Regions from separate parts of the Homo sapiens genome. Here all the other regions are linked to region 2. The links are contacts of gene promoters, found by promoter capture Hi-C in blood cells and fetal thymus (Javierre and others, 2016). All regions are on one chromosome and are shown on one strand. Each heading gives the region's core, a stretch centred on a gene start or on the middle of the fragment in contact. The rest is flanking DNA. Distances are from core to core; before and after follow the strand shown. Region 1 has its middle 8.7 kb from the start of LINC00102. Region 2 holds the start of AKAP17A (A-kinase anchoring protein 17A). Region 3 overlaps CD99 (CD99 molecule (Xg blood group)).

Region 1 (2,700 bases), core at 151-2,650, 1.0 Mb after region 2:
TCCTTAAACTCTCCACTGTGGCTGACTTGCTTATTATCACCAAATTATTATTGTTTCCAAAAAACGTATCTCTTGTGAATGATAAATGAAACCTGTTTGCACAGTGGAAAGTTAGGGAGTAGGTGTGTTGTTGTTTGTTTTGGATATTGTTGGACTTTGTTTTTGTTTTTACCAGTATGCATAGTTTTATTTTAAAACTCTCACAGTCTTTGGAATGATGTAAGGCAAATCTGACTCCCCTGGCCAAGTTAGGCTTCATGAGTGTGTGACTTGTTCGATCACCCAGGGACCCATGCTTACAAGGGTGCCATATTGGTTTATGAGTCTTTAGTTGTCATCTTGAAATTCTTAATATTCAGTTGAGCAAGGATTTCTGCATTTTCATTTTACACAGTACCTTGCCAATTCTGTAGCTGATCTGAAAAGCTGCCTGATAGGTTTTATTGAAAATGCTTTATCAGTACTGTAGCTGGAAGATGTTGGAAGGATATTGGCAGGAGGCTGTGTGTATGGGTATCCCCACCATGACAAAGAACAAGGTCCAATTTTTATATGTTTAGTGAACGTCTGCATGCAAATTGATGTTTCATTTTCTTCACTTCAAGGCACTCATAATCTCAACTCTCATCTTTTACAAACAGACGAGCCAGCACCACTGAACCCACCCAAACCAAAGCCAAATCCAAACCCCAAGCAGCCTGATTCCACCGGTAAGAGCCTCTAACCCTATGGGTCATCTGTATGTTGTTTACAGGACAGTGATATCCATGTCAGCTGGGAGATTTCACATGAAACCTGTGCTCACTCTTCACTCCTTGTACAAGGAAATTCCAAAACCTAGTTTTCAACTATATAATTTTGATTTGGATTATATTTTTAGCGTCCTGATTTTACTTCTAAGATTTTAAGATTTAAGTCATAAATCTTAAATAGAATCTTAAATTCTGAGATTTTTTGGATTCCACCTCTAAAAAGTTGAATACGAGGTTTTAAATACAGACATGATATGAAGGAAGGGATAGTTGCATTCCCAGTGGAGAGGTGAGTGCTTTTCAAATAGTTAGATCGTTAGTGATTTTTTTTTGTTTACATGCTTGTTTAACTTGTAACACAGAAAAATATAACTAGTGTCCAAATCCTGTTGACAGTTTGATAGTTATGTGCTAGTAACGTTATTTTTGGCATATTCATATTTCTTGATGATTTTCTTATGTCATTTAAGTCTTTCTAACATGACTTTTACTGTCCATTTTATGTCCTTATTTATTTCCCACATAATTATATACTTCAATATTTAATTTTGACAATGTTATGTTTCTTCTAACATTTTAGAATTATGGATTTCAAAGTCAATTTGAATCAACTTTATGCACTTGTTTTTATTCCTTCGAATCAATTTCTAGAATGCAAATTGTTCAGATCAATGTGTATGAGTACTTCTGTAGTTTTGACCTGGTTCTGAAATTGGCCCAGAATTATATGAATTTATTTTGATGCCAGGGATATGTGCAAATGTCCCTTTCTTCCCACCATCGTTACTGCTGCTGATCACCTAGAAAACCTTTGTCATGTACTATCACATGTAACATTAATCTTTGCCTAGTTTCAGTTCTTTAGTTCTGCAATTTAAAAAAAAATAGTAAATAGTACATCAATTTGCCACGTATACTTCTTTTTTTTTCTTTTTTTTTTTTTTTGAGATACAGTCTCGCTCTGTCGCCAGGCTGGAGTGCAGGAGCACCATCTCAGCTCACTGCAACCTCTGCCTCCCGGGTTCAAGCAATTCTACTGCCTCAGCTCCCAAGTAGCTGGGACTGCAGGTGCATGCCACCATGCCCGGCTAATTTTTTTGTTTGTTTGTTTGTATTTTAGTAGAGATGGGGTTTCACCATGTTACCCAGGCTGGTCTCCAACTCCTGAGCTCAGGCAGTCCACCCGCCTCGGCCTCCCAAAGTGCTAGGATTACAGGCATGAGCCACTGCGCCCAGCCTACTTCTTCTATATGTATTGATTACTTTGCCTTTATTCTTATCTTCCGATATGTCTGTATTGTTTTATAAACGTTCCTCATTTTTTTATAGACATTAAATATTGCCAACCATTTACTATGAAAATGCTTTTTCATCTTATTTTTGCCATTGAATAGTTTAACAGTATTTTTTGACAGGCAAGTCTTCAAATTTTTATTCATGGTGTCTTATATTTGTCGGAGCTTTCTGATTTTGGTGACTTTTTTTTTTTTTTTTGAGAGAGTCTTGCTCTGTCGCCCAGGCTGGAGTGCAGTGGCACGATCTCCACTCACTGCAACCTCTCCCTCCCAGGTTCAAGCGATTCTCCTGCCTCAGCCTCCCCAGCAGCTGGGACTACAGGCACCCACCACCACGCCCAGCTAATTTTTGTGTTTTTAGTAGACACAGGATTTCACCATATTGGCCAGGCTGGTCTCGAACTCCTGACCTCATAATCTACCTGCCTCAGCCTCTCAAAGTGCTGGGATTACAGGCGTGAGCCACCGTGCCCAGCTGACGTTTTTTCCTTTGAACTTCAGAACCAACATGCCTGCAAAATTGAGATTTTTCTTGATATTCGATGTACCTCTTTCCCTGATGATTTCTTTTAATGCATTTCTAGTTTTTTCTTTTTTTTCATTTTTCTGGATATATTTTTATGCCCACTATCTTTCTGTTTATTTTTGTTACA
Region 2 (2,700 bases), core at 61-2,560:
ACCCGGCTAGTTTTTTGTCTTTTTAGTAGAGACGGGGTTTCACCATGCTGGCCAGGCTGGTCTTTTTTTTGTTTTGTTTTGACATGGAGTCTCGCTCTGTCAACCAGGCTGGAGTGCAGTGGCACGGTCTCACTGCAAGCCCCACCTCCCAGGTTCACGCCATTCTCCTGCCACAGCCTCCCGAGTAGCTGGTAGCTGGGACTACAGGTGCCCACCACCACGCCCGGCTGATTATTTTTTGTATTTTAGTAAAGACGGGGTTTCATCGTGTTAGCCAGGATGGTCTCGATCTCCTGACCTCATCATCCGCACATCTCGGCCTCCCAAAGTGCTGGGATTACAGGCATGAGCCACCGGGCCCGGCCCCAGGCTGGTCTTGAACTCCTGACCTTGTGATCTGCCCGCCTTGGCCCTCCAAAGTGCTGGCATTACAGACGTGAGCCACCGCACCTGGCCTCATTTATTATTTTGTAATCACATTATAAATTGTCATTTATTATTTCATAATTACATTATAAATGATCATTTCAGAATTACATTATATATTTTCATTTATTTCATAATTACACTATAGATTATCATTTATTATTCCAAAATTACATTATAAATTATGATTATATTATACAATAGCATTTGCTTCATAATTACATTAGATTATCATTTATTTTTAAATTACATTATATTTATTTCATAATTACATTATAAATTATCTTATAATTAGAAATGATCATTTATTTCATAATTGCAATATAAATTATTATTAATTTCATAATACCATTGTAAGTTATCATTTATTATTTCATAATTACATTATGTAATGGTATGCGTTAATAATTATTAATATACAATTAATAATTATTAACCATTCAATTAATAGTTAATTAACTAGCAATTTATATGTAATTCTATAATTACGTCATAGAATATGATATCTAATTTATACATAAATTATATTATTCAAGTATATTACCCATAATTTGCAAGTATAGTATAGAATCCCGTTATAGGATCCTATTACATTTTAGAATTTTGTTATATATATTTGACTCTACAATTGGAATTTAGACCCCACACCGGCCCCCCTCCTGTTTGGCTTAAGGGCTATGACCACAGACCCTGGCCCAAGTACCTCCCCTGGTTACCCGCAGGCAGGTGGCACCATGGGGGCGGGGCGGACTCGCGCACGCGCAGTGCAAAAGGTCGGGCTCCCGGAAGTCCCTCCTCCCGGGGGCGGAGCCAGGGCAAGAAGGAGAAACCCGGTGCTGCCGCGCGGCCTCTTCCGCGAGCCCGCGCGCCGGAAGTGGAAATGCGTCATAGAGGGCGGGCGGCGACGGCGGTGGCGGCGTCGGAGGCGCCTCCGGGGGACGGTGGCGGCTCCCGGCGGTGAGGCCGCGCCTGTCCGGGGATCGTCGAGGGACGGCGGGAGCTTGGGCCAGCGGCGGCGGCGGCCTGGGACGCAGGCGGAGCCCCGCGCAGGTGAGTGCCGCCCCCGTGCCTCCCGGGCCTGGCTGCAGCCGGCGAACGCTTCGCTCCTAGGGCCGGGCCCGGGGGGCCGGGGCTTGGGAGGCGGCGCCTAGGGGCCTCGGAGGTGACGGGGCTGGGGTTGGGGGGCGTGGGGTGCCACCGGGGGGCTGGGAGCGCCTGAAACTGTACGGGGGAATCGGGGGCTGGGGAGGTCTGCGGTCGGGGTCCGGGGGTCCCTGGAAGTAGGGGTAGGGGCTGGAGCGGTTCCTGGGACTGCACCGAAGGAGCTGAGGCCTGGAGCGGTGTCGGAGGGCTGGGAGCTCGGGGGATCGGATGGGCGGGAGACTAGGAGGCCTGGGACTAGGGGACGTGGCGCTGCGGTCGCTCCTAGGTCTACAGTGGGAAGCAAGGGGCTGTCCGGGGTTTTCGGAGGCTGGGGCGGTGCTGTGTAGGTTGGGGTATTGGGGCTCATCCAGGAGGGTGGTGGGGAGCGGGGAACTGAGGAGCTGAGGGTACCGAGTGGCCAAGGGCCTGAGAATGTGTGGGGCCCTGCCAGGGGTGCCAGCGGCAGCCTGAGGCCATGCTGGGGGGCTGCGGTAGGTGGGAATACCAGGGGCAATGCCGCGTACTGGGGATTGGGCAGCCAGGTGTACCGGGGTGGTCGGAGGGCGCTGGAGGCCAGAGTGGGGAGGGTTCCTCGGTGGTGAAGTTGCTGGGGCCGCTTGGGTTCTGGGGGAGGGTTCACTGGTCTCTGTCCAGACTGGAGCCCCTCCCTGGTGCCCCACTGACCTTTTCTGGTCGCTTCTCCACCCTCCCTCCCTTCTTTCGCACCTCCCACCTCGGGCTTGGGCGAGGAGGCCGTCTCCTGGGCCTGGCAGGAAGCCTCCAGGTTGATGGGGTGGGCGGCCGGGCCGGAGGCGGTCACCTGAGATGGTTGGGTTTCTGCGAGTGAAGCTTCCTCTACTTGGACTTGGCCGTCAGGAAGTGGCTGCCCGTCAGCTCAGCAGGGAAGAGGTGGGTTAATGAAGGTGGGCGGAGAAAGAAGGCGCAGACGGGGGACTCCGGCCCCTAACTTGTGGAAAGTTCGTTGTACTTTTTGGCTTTGAGTGGGTTAAAGCTGGGATACGTTTGGCCTTCGTGGAGATTACTAGGGTTCATGGTTCTGGATTGTTGTTGCAGCCCGAGACTTCCTGTTTTATCAGGGCAAGTACAGGGCCGCCGCCCCCTCCACAAAAC
Region 3 (2,700 bases), core at 98-2,597, 1.1 Mb after region 2:
AGTGGCATGATCTCTGCTCACTGCAACCTCTACTTCCCGGATTCAAGCGATTTTCCTGCCTCAGCCTCCTGAGTAGCTGGGATTACATGCGCATATCACCACGCCTGGCCAATTTTTTTGTATTTATAGTAGAGACGGGGTTTCACCATGTTGGTTGGGCTGGTCTCGAACTCCTGACCTCGTGATCCTCTCACCTTGGCCTCCCAAAGTGCTGAGATTACAGGTGTGAGCCACCGCACCCGGCCCCAGAGATGACTTCTAAACCTTCAGGGTATTCCCAGCAAGTCAGGGCAAGTCTATATATATATAATATATATATGTGTATATATATATTTGTATAAATATATAATTCGTATATATAGTATGTATATATAGTATATATAGTATGTATGTATATGGTGTGTATATATGTAGTGTGTGTATACATAGTATGTGTATATACAGTATGTATGTATATAGTATGTGTATATATAGTATGTGTGTGTATTATATATATATATAGTATGTGTATGTGTGTATATATATATATGTTTATTTGGGATAAGGAAAGGAAATCAGTATGTCAAAGAGACACTCCCCTCCCATGTTTATTGCAGCACCATTCGGAGTAGCCAAGACATGCAGTCAATGGAAGAGCCCATCAAGGGATGAATGCAGAAAGAAAATGTGCTATATCAACTCTGTACATTCACTAAAAGCCATTCATTTGCACAGTGAGAATAAGTGCCTTTCATGCTATGTAAACTATGCCTCAATAAAGCTATTAAATGAACAAAGAAAATAGGGTATATTCACAATGGAATGGTATTCAGCTTTAAAAAAGAAGGAGGTTGGCTGGGTGCGGTGGCTCATGCCTGTCATCCTAGCACTTTGGGAGGCTGAGGCAGGTGGATCACCTGAGGTCAGGAGTTCAAGACCAGCCTGGCCAACATGGTGAAACCCCGTCTCTAGTAAAAATACAAAAAATTAGCTGGGCATGATGGGCGGGCGCCTATAGTCCCAGCTACTCAGGAGGCTGAGGCAGGAGAATTGCTTGAACCCAGGAGGCGGAGGTTGTAGTGAGCCAAGATCATCGCACTCCAGCTTGGGCAACAGAGTGAGACTCTGTCTCAAAAAGAAAAAAGAAGGAAGTCCTGCCATTTGCAACAACATGGATGGAACTGGAGGACATGATGTTAAGTGCAGTAAGCCGAGCACAGAAAGACAAATACCGTCTGACCCAAACACGCTTACGTGGAATCTAAAACCACTGAACTCACAGAAGCAGAGTGGAATGGCGGTGACCAAGGGGTTGGGAGTGAGGGGTGGGGGAAATGGGGAAATGATGGGTAAAGGGTACAACATTTCCATCAGATAGGAAGGGATAAGTTCAGGGGTCTACTGTACTCAGGGTGACTGTGGTTAGTAAGAATGCGTTGCATACTTGAAAATGCCTAAGACAGTAGCTTTGAACTGTTTGCACCACAAATAAATAGGCGAGGTAAGATGTAAATAAAGAAAAAAAATACTTCAAAAAATACAATTACAGATTTCTATGGAAACATATGAACATGAGTGCATATATATATTTATATGTGCGTGTGTCTGTACCTGCCTTATGGTTTATTCTGGATCAGTAGGATCCTCCCTTGCTACCGTCTAAAGATCTGCCGCATGCTGCAGGAGGAGCTGTAATTGCATTTATGATGTCTGGCAAGTGTCCTGTTGTGGAAACAGCCATTTCAGGGCTCTGAGGTTGTGGAAACGACTCCACTCTGGTTGCCGGCATGGGGCCCACAGAGCTGTTCCGAGCGTTTTGTCTACTTTCTACTTATTGTTGACACACACAGAAACACACACGCAGCCATGAGTACACACACACACAGACATACAAGCAGACGTGGACACACCTACCTGTATGTACATACTCAAAACACACCTTCACACTATACTCACCTACCCATACACACACGTGCACACAACTACATGTGTGCACACAAACACATGCATACATGCACCTATGCATATGCACACGTGGAAACACACCTGCACACTACACACACCTACACATACACACACAAACCCACAAATGCACACACCCACACAGGCACAAACACACAAATGCACACACCCACACATGCACAAACACACCTACACACATAAACATATTGACACATGCACACATGCACATGAAAAACACATATACACACTACATCCGCCTACACATACACACACAAACCCACATATACATGCACCTACACACATGCACACATAACACCTACACACATGCATACAGAACCCACACATACATGCATCCATAGGCACACAGAAACACACCTACACACTGTGCACACCTACATATGCACACACAAACCCACATGAACATGCACTGACACATATGCACACAAAAAACACACTACACACACAGAAACCCACAAAATACACCTCCACACTTACACAAAACACGCCTACACATATGCACATACACAAACCCACACATACATGCACCTGCCTATATGCACCCACAACACATACACATATGCACACACAGAACTCACCTACACACCCCATACATGCACACAAAACCCACAAATACATACATGTGCACTGCAAATGCCCAAATATACATGCACACTCACACACACATACCCCTGTGACATATGCATGCACGCTTCATTTATACATGCAGGAGCATAGCCTGGTCGTTTGCACCTGTTGTGG

The links. The method cuts DNA at HindIII sites, captures the fragments that hold promoters and counts their contacts. A CHiCAGO score of 5 or more calls a contact.
Region 1: a fragment that was not itself captured here is called in contact with the fragment with the promoter of AKAP17A in region 2 in 5 of 17 cell types (total B cells, total CD4 T cells, total CD8 T cells and 2 more); the score reaches 9.4 in total B cells.
Region 3: a contact is called between a fragment that was not itself captured here and the fragment with the promoter of AKAP17A in region 2, in 1 of 17 cell types (activated CD4 T cells). The highest score is 6.3, in activated CD4 T cells.

What each region holds. Positions count from the first base shown.
Region 1 is chrX:2,622,744-2,625,443 of GRCh38, forward strand. It overlaps the pseudogene CD99P1. Among named protein-coding and RNA genes, the nearest start is that of LINC00102, 8.7 kb to the left of the region's middle. The HindIII fragment of the contact is 3,854 bases long and covers 1-2,700 here.
Region 2 is chrX:1,590,294-1,592,993 of GRCh38, forward strand. It overlaps AKAP17A (A-kinase anchoring protein 17A), which reads left to right and starts at 1,311. Exons shown (of 5, transcript NM_005088.3): 1 at 1,311-1,476. The HindIII fragment of the contact is 17,990 bases long and covers 1-2,416 here.
Region 3 is chrX:2,710,926-2,713,625 of GRCh38, forward strand. The region is part of intron 1 of CD99 (CD99 molecule (Xg blood group)); the gene reads left to right. Among named protein-coding and RNA genes, the nearest start is that of CD99, 21 kb to the left of the region's middle. The HindIII fragment of the contact is 3,844 bases long and covers 1-2,700 here.